Regions from separate parts of the Homo sapiens genome. Here region 1 is linked to region 2. The links are contacts of gene promoters, found by promoter capture Hi-C in blood cells and fetal thymus (Javierre and others, 2016). All regions are on one chromosome and are shown on one strand. Each heading gives the region's core, a stretch centred on a gene start or on the middle of the fragment in contact. The rest is flanking DNA. Distances are from core to core; before and after follow the strand shown. Region 1 holds the start of ZBTB4 (zinc finger and BTB domain containing 4). Region 2 holds the start of VAMP2 (vesicle associated membrane protein 2).

Region 1 (4,866 bases), core at 1,386-3,885, 690 kb after region 2:
GCCCGGCCCGCGCCCCGCTCGGTGTCCACCCGCCCGGTGGCCCAGCGCGGCGCAGTGTCATGCCGCGGGGGTCAGTCCTGGGGAAGGCCGTCGGGCGCTCGGAGCTTTGTGTCGGTGTCGGCTGCGCTGCGCCGGCCTCCTCTCGGCGGCGGCGGCGGCGGCGCTGGGGGGGGACTGTTTCCGGGGGTGGGGGTGGGGGTAGGACCGGGGCGGGGGGAGCCGATGATGTCAGCGGCGGCGGCGGCGGCGGCAGCGGGGCCGGGCCGGGGCCAGGCGCTGGGGGGGCCAGGGCCGGAGCTGGAGCCGGAGCCGGAGCTGGAGGCGGGCAAAACCGGAGCGGCCGGGGGCGGCCACGGTGATGAGCCGGGCCTGGCGGACGCGGCGCCATCGCAGTCAGGTGGGCCCTGGGGCGAACTGGGCAGGGCCAGGGCGGACCGGAGCCAACTGCCAGGCCCCCTCTCCGCTGCCCGGCGCTGCGGGAGCCCCGACCGCGCCCCGCGCCCAGACCGCTCTCCTTTGGGGTTGACCTGGGGGCGCAGGGGTCGGGGGCTGAGCCTGGCCCCGCCCCCGGGCGCGCACGACGCTGGGGGGCGACTAAGGGGGCCCTGGTATGGCGTCCGAGCGAGGGGCGGCCGTGGGACGCGATCGCCTGGGGCCGTGGAAGGGGAGGTGCTCACTCCCTCTTTGAAGGGTTAATTCTGCAGCCTAATGGCCCCCTCCCCCCGTGGGGCAGATTGGGGGTGGGGTGGGGCGGGTGTGAGCCCGGGCAAGCGCTGCAAGCTGCTGGGAGGGTGATGGCGTAGGAGCCAGGCAGAGAGGGGGAGGGGTGGGCCGCCGAGCGCCCCAGAGTTGGGGTGTGCGGGGTGCGCAGGGCGAGCTGGGGCCCCGGAACCGCCGCGCCGTCGGGGCAGGGTTGTGGCTGTGAGTCTTGGAGATCGTGTGTCTTGTGCTGTGTGGTGGGGCAAGGTAAACCTCTCCTGGGCACCACCGTTTGCTGGCAGCCAGGGGTCTGGGTAGGGCCCTCCCTGGGCCATGGAGATAGAAAGCCAGGAAGGGTGTCCAGTGTTGTGGGGCAGAGTTACAAGACGAGCCCTGTGGCTTTGGGTGACAGATGGGTATTCTGAGCAGGGCACAGCATGCTGGGTGCAGAGTTTGTTCGATGTGGGGCTGTATGTTTTCTACAGCATGTGTTTTCTCGCATGTGTGTCTTGTGCTGCACCTATGACCTGTTTATGAACTGTTTTCTGCAGAGCTGGCATGCTGTATGTGTTGCGGAGGGTGCCAGGATGCAGTGTATGTGCCCTTTTGGAGGGGGCGGTTGTGGGCCTTTGAGTCAGAAGGCGTCACGTCTGGGTCCCATTTCTGTGGCCCTGCTGAGGTGTGGTCCAGTGGTGAAGAGGGCGATGGATGGGTTTGCGTGTCTGTGATGAGCGCGTTGCATGGGGGCTGCGCGTCTAGAACTCAGATCCCAAAGATCATGAGAGGAGCGAGGAACCCCGGGGTATGTCTCAGGGGCCTGTGGGTCAGTTGGCACTGGTGTGAGGGGCTCGAGGTGGAATGCGCCAGTTGTGTTTATGGGATCATGGGCAGCCAAGCGAGGGGAAGGTTGTGTGTTTGCAACATTCTCCACAGGATTCTTTTGTGACGTTGTTTGTAGGAGCCTGTCTGGGCTGCTGAGCTGGGAGGCAAACTGGTCAGAAAACACATGTGGGGAGGGAGGTGGCGTGACAAGGGCAGTGTGGGCCTCAGACCCAAGAGGCCAGCCGCAAGCAGGCTGTGTGTGCGTGCCTGCCGTCTGTGTGCTTAAGTGGCGGTGGGGCTGCGGAGGGGATTTGGTATGAGGAAGGCGGGAGATAAATGCAGGGTAGCGCATGGAGGCCGGCGGGAGGCATGGGTGTTGTCAGATGGCCCAGCTAATCTTTGCAGGGTCTGTATGTTTGCCCCTCATGAGCCTGCCCAGCGTGTCAGGGTCACCCGGAGGAGAGGCTGGGCGGCCACAAGGGAAGTAAGCTTAGACAGAGAGGCTCCTTGGCCATGTTTATGTAAAGGCTGGGTGTGACTCTTGTCACTAAAATGGAAAAAAGAAACGTGAAGTTTTCAGCCTCCTCCTGCTTCACCCTCTCCCTCTCTCTGCCCCCCTTGTGGGTATCTCTGACGCACACTGGGCCCCACTCCTGCGACGGTGGAAGGGCCTCAGAACAGAATTCGCTCACTAGGCAGATTCCTCAGAACAGGTTTTCCTCACCTTTGGGGACTGGGCCCTTCTAGGGGTGTGTGTGCAAGTGCATTCCAAGCCTGCACACCACTGTCTACTGTGCCCGGCCCCACTGGAAGGATGTGTGTACGTGGGGGAAGGGAGGGTGCTGCGGACAGGCCCTCCGGCATGGGGGGCTGGGAAGGGGTGGCTGCCGTGGGAGCCTGCTCAACAGGTGCACAGTGACGGTCTGGTGAAGAGAAAGGAGCCATGGTCCAGGGCTGAGGAGCTCTGGCGTCTTTACCATTCCCTCACTGGCACTTGATCTGAAGGAAGCTCAGTTCCTCATCTGCAGAATGGGGCTGATTGTCTGCCCTGCGTATCTTCCAAAAGCACATGGGAAACGGACCCGGAAAGTGGCTATAGTCTGGGGGCTGTGCCTATGCCAGCCCCTGTCAGCCCTCCCCCAGGACTGGGAATTCCCTTCTTGGGGCTTCGCTGATAATAATGGCAGCACACACTTGCTTAGCACTGACCGTGCACCAGCCTGTCCTCAGGGCACTTATATGTGGCCACTCTGTCCTCAGAACAACACCCTGAAGTAGGCACTCTACCTCCCTTTTTCAAGTGAGGCAGCTGAGGTCCAGAGAAGTTAAGTAATCTGCCCCAAGTCACTTAGCTAGTAAGAGGTGAAGCTGTATTTGAACCCGGGCAATCAGGTTGAAGATCTTGTGCTCTTAACTACTGTACTCTGCTGCCTTCTGGAACATTCAGTGGATGGTCCTTTCTGTGCAACTCCCTCCAACACTCTTCTCCCCAGTTGCTGCAGAACTTAGCATTTGCAGCAGTCCATTTCAGAAGACCCGGATGCTCAGGGATCCCCAGCTGAGGGCATGAGAACCTGAGTCTCTGCTGCTGTGTAAGGTGGATGCTGGCCATAGGAGCACAAAAGGTTGATGAGTCAGAGGAAGGAATGATCGTTCTCATCCTGTGGATCAGGGAGGGCCAAGAAGGAGGTGGCCTTGGAGTCAGATCTTAACGTTTTGGAGGGATTTTGACAAGCTTGGGGAAAGAGCATTTCTGGCAGAACAAGCCAGCACAGGCAAAGGCATGAAGGTGTGGGTCATGTAGAAGCTGGAGAGCACACTGGGTGTCTGGGGTTTTGTTCATTTGTTTAGAAACTGGGTCTCAATATATTGCCCAGGCTGGACTCAAACTCCTGGGCTCAAGCAATCCTCTAGCTGCAGCCTCCTGAGTAGCTGGGACTATGGGTATCTGCCATCACGCCTGGCTCACGCTGAGTACTGTGTGTTTGAAGAGGATAACACAAGGCAAGATTAAAAAGGAAGATTGGAGCTAGACCAGAGCCCTTGACTGCCTGGTAGAAGAATTTGAACTTTCTTCTAGAGTCAGTGGGGACCAGTGGAGGTTTTGAGCCCAGGAGTGATAGTCCTGAACTGTGGTTAGGGACGTTGACCCTCAGGGGGAGGAGGGCTGGATGGAGGAAGGTAAGCCTGGAGGCCAGGGGATAGCTGGGAGGCCATAACCTTGGACCACGTGAGTGTTAACAAGGACCTGAGCTATCGAAGGGAAGATTTCCAGAGCCATTCCCAAGCTCGGCGGCGATTTCAGCCACACTTGATGACTGCTGGATGTGGAAGTGAGGGAAAGGGTGGAGTCAGACATGACACATTTAGCACTTAGCACGTGAGACCTTGTGCGGTGGTTTATGTAACCAGCTGGCGGGCCATAGGCCTCTTCAGGGCCAGGTCTAGCAGTATGGCAGAGGGAAAGATTGAGCATCTGGGGTCAGCTGGGCCTGGATTCGAATCTTGACTGCTGCTTACAAGCTGTGCGACCTCGAGTAAGGTATATCCCTCTCTGAGCCTCGGTTTCCTCTTCTGTAAAATTAGAATAATATGGCCGGGCGCAGTGGCCCATGCCTGTAATCCCAGAACTTTGGGAAGCCAAGGCAGGTGGATCACCTGAGGTCAGGAGTTCAAGACCAGCCTGGCCAACATGGAGAAACCCTGTCTCTACTAAAAATAAAAAAACTAGCTGGGCGTGGAATCCCAGCTACTCTGGAGGCTGAGGCAGGAGAATTGCTTGAACCCAGGAGACGGAGGTTGCAGTGAGCCGAGATCACGCCACTGCGCTCCAGCCTGGGCAACAGGATAATATAAAACCTATTGTGGGTGGCTGTACTGAGAATATCATTAAATGAGGTAATGTGTGTGAGGCCCCAAGAAGAGTATGAGGCAAATTGTGAGGACTCCAGAGTGGTCAACTTATTTATGGTTTCTTTTAATTTTTTTTTGAGACGGAATTTCTCTCTTGTTACCCAGGCTGGAATGCAATGGCATGATCTTGGCTCACTGCAACCTCCGCCTTCCGGGTTCAGGTGATTCTCCTGCCTCAGCCTCCCGGGTAGCTGGGGTTACAGGCGCCCGCCACTACGCCCAGCTAATTTTTTATTTTCAGTAGAGACCAAGTTTCACCATGTTGGCCAGGCTGGTCTCACCATGTTGGCTAGGCAGGTGGTCAATCCCTGACCTCAGGTGATCCACCTGCCTTGGCCTCCCAAAGTGCTGGGATTACAGGCGTGAGTTGGCCATACCTGGCCTTTTTTTTTTTTTTTTTTTTTTTTGAGGCAGAGTCTCACTCTGTCGCCC
Region 2 (4,922 bases), core at 2,354-4,853:
GAGACCAGCCTGGCCAACATGGCGTAACCCTGTCTCTACTAAAAACAGAAAAATTAGCAGAGGTTGTAGTGAGCCAAGCTTGTGCCACTGCACTCCAGCTTGGGTGACAGAGGGAGACTGCCTCAAAAAAAATAATTAAAAAGGCCGGGCACAGTGGCTCACACCTGTAATCCCAGAACTTCGGGAGGCCAAAGTGGGCAGATCACCTGAAGTCAGGAGTTTGAGACCAGCCTGGCCAACATGGCGCAACCCTGTCTTTACTAAAAATAGAAAAATTAGCCAGGCATGGTGGCGGACGCCTGTAATCCCAGGGACTCGGGAGCCTGAGGCAGGAGAATCTCTTGAACCCAGGAGGCAGAGGTTGCAGTGAGCCGAGATCACGCCACTGCACTGCAGCCCCGGCCGACTTCTAAACCAGTAATTGTCTGAAGAGAAAAAAAAATTACGAAATAAGGCCGGGCATGGTGGCTCACGCCTGTAATCCCAGCACTTTGGGAGGCCACGGTGGGTGGGTCACCTGAGGTCAGGAGTTCGAGACCAGCCTGGCCAACATGGTGAAATCCCGTCTCTACTAAAAGTACAAAACGATTAGCCGGGCGTGGTGGTGCACTCCTGTAATCCCAGCCACTTGGGAGTCTGAGGCAGGAGAATCACTTGAACCCGGGAGGTGGAGGTTGCAGTGAGCCGAGATCGCACCATTGCACTCCAGCCTGGGCAAGAAGAGCGAAACTCCATCTTAAATATAAATAAATAAATAATAATAAAAATAAAAAATAAAAGAAAGCGTTTATGAAAGTGTGGTCTCGGCCAGGCGCGGTGGCTCAAGCCTGTAATCTCAGCACTTCGGAAGGCCAAGGCGGGCGGATCACGGGGTCAGGAGATCAAGACCACCCTGGCTAACACGGTGAAACCCTGTCTCTACTAAAAATACAAAAAATTAGCCGGGCCGGGTGGTGGGCGCCTGTAGTCCCAGCTACTCGGGAGGCTGAGGGAGGAGAATGGCGTGAACCTGGGAGGCGGAGTTTGCAGTGAGCAGAGATCGCGCCATTGCACTCCAGCCTGGGTGACAGACAGAGACTCTGTCTCAAAAAAGAAAAAAAAAGAAAAAAAAAAGAAAAAGAAAGTGTGGTCTCTGTTGCCTACATCACCATCACCTTGAGTCCTACATCCTTTGAATGAGTCTTGGGGGTGTGCCCTAGAAAATCATTGGCCAATTCCCGAAGCCAGTACATGTAGAAGCCAAATCTGAGTTATGCAAATACATTATTTTTCTATTGTTCAACTTACCTCTATTTGGGTCTCCATTCTACCTGCCTGCAGAAAACATTCTCTCAGTCACTTCCAGGTGAACTCCGTCATCCCACTCCTTCTCCCACCTCCACCATTGATCTAAATTTGGGGAGTTCCTCTGAGCCACAGCCTAGGTGGGGTGGGGTGGGAAGGGGCTGCTGGATGAGAGTCCTCTTTCTGAGATGAATCCTCCTGGGCCCTTCATCTCCGTGGGTCACACATGCCCTCATTTCTACTCTGCTGCTGCCGTCCCCACGATCCAATAGCAATAGCACGACCCCTGGCCTTGACCGTGTATCTGGGGCTCTGTCCCTTCCACATCACCCCCAAACCAGCATCAAATGTCTTGTCTGGCTCTGCACTAGGCTCCCCTCAGTTAGTGCAGGGTGTCCAACTGGGGGCGGAAGGGCTTCCTGTGCCTGCCTCTTCCAATCCTCCATGTCTTATTTATACCCTGACAGACACTGAGGGTTTTGAACTTAAAAGGCTGGAATTTGGCATCTTTGTTCTCTGACTAGAAAGAGGAATCATTTGAAGACCAAAAAGCAGGAGCCAGCATCTCACAGCATGATCTGAGACCCCCGTGGAAGCTGCTCTTTTCTTTCTCATCACATAGGCTGAGCCACCCGGGACTGTCAGTGCACAAGGACCAGGGACGCGGCTGCTCCTCTGAGGGGGAGGAAGCCAAGAGTATCTTCTCTTAGATTGGGCTGAGTTCCCACACCCAGCACACACATTCCCTGCTCACTCACCTCCCACAGACAGCTGGGAAATGACACCTCTGGTGACAGAGCCACTCTCCGGGCTTCTGTGGGGAGCGGGTGGGGCACTGCAGTGGGGGAGGATCTCACACCCGGAGGCCCTGGGAAGCCAGGGTGGGGGAGGGAGGAAGCTGGTTCCTGTTTGTCTTAGAGATCAAGGCCATCAGCCTCCCTGCACCTTCCAGGGATGTAGTAAGCACCCCCACCCCAGGGCCAAAGGGCCTCGCCTAAAATGCCTCCTGCACCCTTGAGGCTTGCTTTGACCCCCTGCACTCCACCAGAGCGACAGCTCCCCTGGTCCCATCTTCTCTGACAAGCTGGGTGGGAGTGTATACAGCTGCTGGGTGTGCTTAGAGGGCCTAATGGAGACCAGCCAGGGATAATCTCCTATGTTATCCACATCAAGCCATTTAACAAATATGGATTTAGTACCTACATATGCAATGTATTTGGGGTCCAGAGAGAGGAGGGCAACGGTCCAAGGTCACACCTGCGAGGCGAATACGCATGTAAAGCAGCACCTTGTAACCTGTGCCCACTGTGCCTACTACTAAAGAAAAAAAAATGAGAGAAAAAGAAAAAAGGCTTTTTTTTTTTTTTTGGCCCAGGCCCTGTGCCTGGGACCAAAGCCTGAGCCCTTTCCTGCAGTCGGGTCGCTGACCTAAGCCTGGGGCAAAGCTAGGTCTTGGCCAGTCAGCAGCCACCACGTGAAGCAGCCCCTGCCCCCATCACCCCCGGCAGCCTTGTGCCCTCCTCCTCGGGGTCCTCAGCTCACCCCACCTCAGTCGGGCCTGCTCCAGCGGTTAAGTACCCCTAGTCTGAACCTTAATCGTGAGGCGGGGCAGCCCCCTCCCCACACCCTGTAGACACTCCCCCGTCCTCCGCCCCCTGGACTTGTTTGGGCGGGAAGAGCCTGCCTCATCTTTTCTTCCTACCCTCCTACCCAGTGGCCAGGGACCCCAGGCTTCCTCTGAGACATCCACCAGCGGTGATGGGTTGGGACCAATCTCCCCCACTCCTCTCCACCCTAGCAGTAAGGTCCCCGCTCTCGATACTGCCCCAGCACCTGCACTGGCCCTCTCTGATTTCCCAACTCCAGCCCATTCCAAGTGCTGAAGGCGGGTCGCTAGGTGCTGGGACCTGGGCGCGGGGCAAGACCTTGGGCTGTGTGGGGTGCAGGCTGGTTTACTGGGTTCACGATTGAGGGAGTGGTCTGGGGGTTAGGTGTAGGGCCAGGCTGCGTTGTGCTCTAAGGGGCAGGCGGCAGGCGGTTTGGGGGGGCTGTGGTCAGACAGGGTGGGGTGGCGGTGGGTTTGGGGAAGCCGCAGCAGCCCGCCTTGGGGTCCCGCGAGTGCCGAGGGAGCTGCCGGGGCATGGTGGCGCGGGGCCCGTGGTCCTGCCCGGCACGACCCCCGCCCCGCAGCGCCCCGCAGCGCCCCGCCCCCGCGGCCCCGCTCGCGACGCGTCTCCCGCGGCGCCCCGCCCCCGCCCGCAGTGCCCGGATGCGGGTGACGCGCGGCCGCCATCTTTCCGTCCCGGGCAGCCAGCGCCAGTCGGAGCCAGCGCGAGCCGCCGCCGCCATCACTGCCGCTGCCAAGTCCTCCACCCGCTGCCCCCGCCATGTGAGTCGGCCGCCCGCCACCCTCACCGCGCTTCCCTGCGCCGGCCGCCGCCCTTGGCAACCGGCCGTCGGGAGTGCCCGGGGTCTCTCCTGCGTTCCCCGCGCCCCGGGGCCAGGCCCAAGCCGGTGACTGCGCGCGGGCGGCCGAGGAGCCCCGCGTCCCGGGCTGGCCGGCTCGGGCGATGGCCGCGGGAAGGAGCGGACCCAGTGTCCTCCTGCCCCTCCCCGCCCCTGTCACCGCGGCCGCCTGTCTTTTCGGGTCGACCCGGATCGCATCTGTGAGGTCGCCCTCAGTTGACAGGCGGGGAAACTGAGGCCGGGGGGGCCTCGCTCAAGGTCACGCAGCTCATCGGCGGCAGGGCTGGACCGAGACCAGGGCTTACATCGGGTGGCCTTCCTCCCGAAAAGGAGGACTGGAGGGACGAGGATGGACAGGTGGATGGGCGGAGCCCTGGCTGCGGGGCCGGGAGGCTGCAGGCCCTGGGTCTTAATCCGTCCCTGCTCCTCAGGTCTGCTACCGCTGCCACGGCCCCCCCTGCTGCCCCGGCTGGGGAGGGTGGTCCCCCTGCACCCCCTCCAAACCTCACCAGTAACAGGAGACTGCAGCAGACCCAGGCCCAGGTGGATGAGGTGAGTGTGGGGGGAGTCAAAAGCAGTAGGAGGGACCCTGGGGGTTGGCGTATAGGTGTAGGGGCCCATGTTGGTTTGGGAGTGATGACAGTTCACGCCTGTGGGTTTGCGGACAAAGATACCATGCCCCATCCCTGTCTCCCTGTCAGCACGCACTTGGAAGGGCGCTGGGGGTGTTAATCAGCTTTGCTAGCCTGGGGTGTGCCAGCCTGGGCAGGTGTGCTCTGGTGATGGACAGAGCGCCTGAGGTTCCATAGAGGGAGGGTGTTGCTATGACATCTGAGATGTCACCAGCATGCCCCTGATGTGTGCTCCTTGCATGTCCCCAGGTGTGCTAGGCATGTTCTGTGTGTCCTTGGCATGTTAACCTGGCAGTATCAGGGTGCATGTTCCATGTGTGGCACGGTGGGCACATGTTTGAGGATTGCCCTCACTGAGGTGGGCCTTGGCACACCCCCCTGCCTCGTGGGCCCTTCTCCCAGGTGGTGGACATCATGAGGGTGAACGTGGACAAGGTCCTGGAGCGAGACCAGAAGCTGTCGGAGCTGGACGACCGTGCAGATGCACTCCAGGCGGGGGCCTCCCAGTTTGAAACAAGCGCAGCCAAGCTCAAGCGCAAA

The links. The method cuts DNA at HindIII sites, captures the fragments that hold promoters and counts their contacts. A CHiCAGO score of 5 or more calls a contact.
Region 1: a contact is called between a fragment that was not itself captured here and the fragment with the promoter of VAMP2 in region 2, in 1 of 17 cell types (total CD8 T cells). The highest score is 5.2, in total CD8 T cells.

The regions. Positions count from the first base shown.
Region 1 is chr17:7,474,987-7,479,852 of GRCh38, reverse strand. ZBTB4 (zinc finger and BTB domain containing 4) reads left to right here and starts at 222. Exons shown (of 4, transcript NM_001128833.2): 1 at 222-397. RefSeq lists silencers at 1-125, 146-605, 866-915. The HindIII fragment of the contact is 1,246 bases long and covers 2,013-3,258 here.
Region 2 is chr17:8,161,629-8,166,550 of GRCh38, reverse strand. VAMP2 (vesicle associated membrane protein 2) reads left to right here and starts at 3,603. Exons shown (of 5, transcript NM_014232.3): 1 at 3,603-3,673; 2 at 4,182-4,302; 3 at 4,785-4,922. The coding sequence starts at 3,672. RefSeq lists silencers at 3,236-3,295, 3,426-3,525, 3,686-3,875, 4,166-4,275 and an enhancer at 4,386-4,435. The HindIII fragment of the contact is 9,788 bases long and covers 81-4,922 here.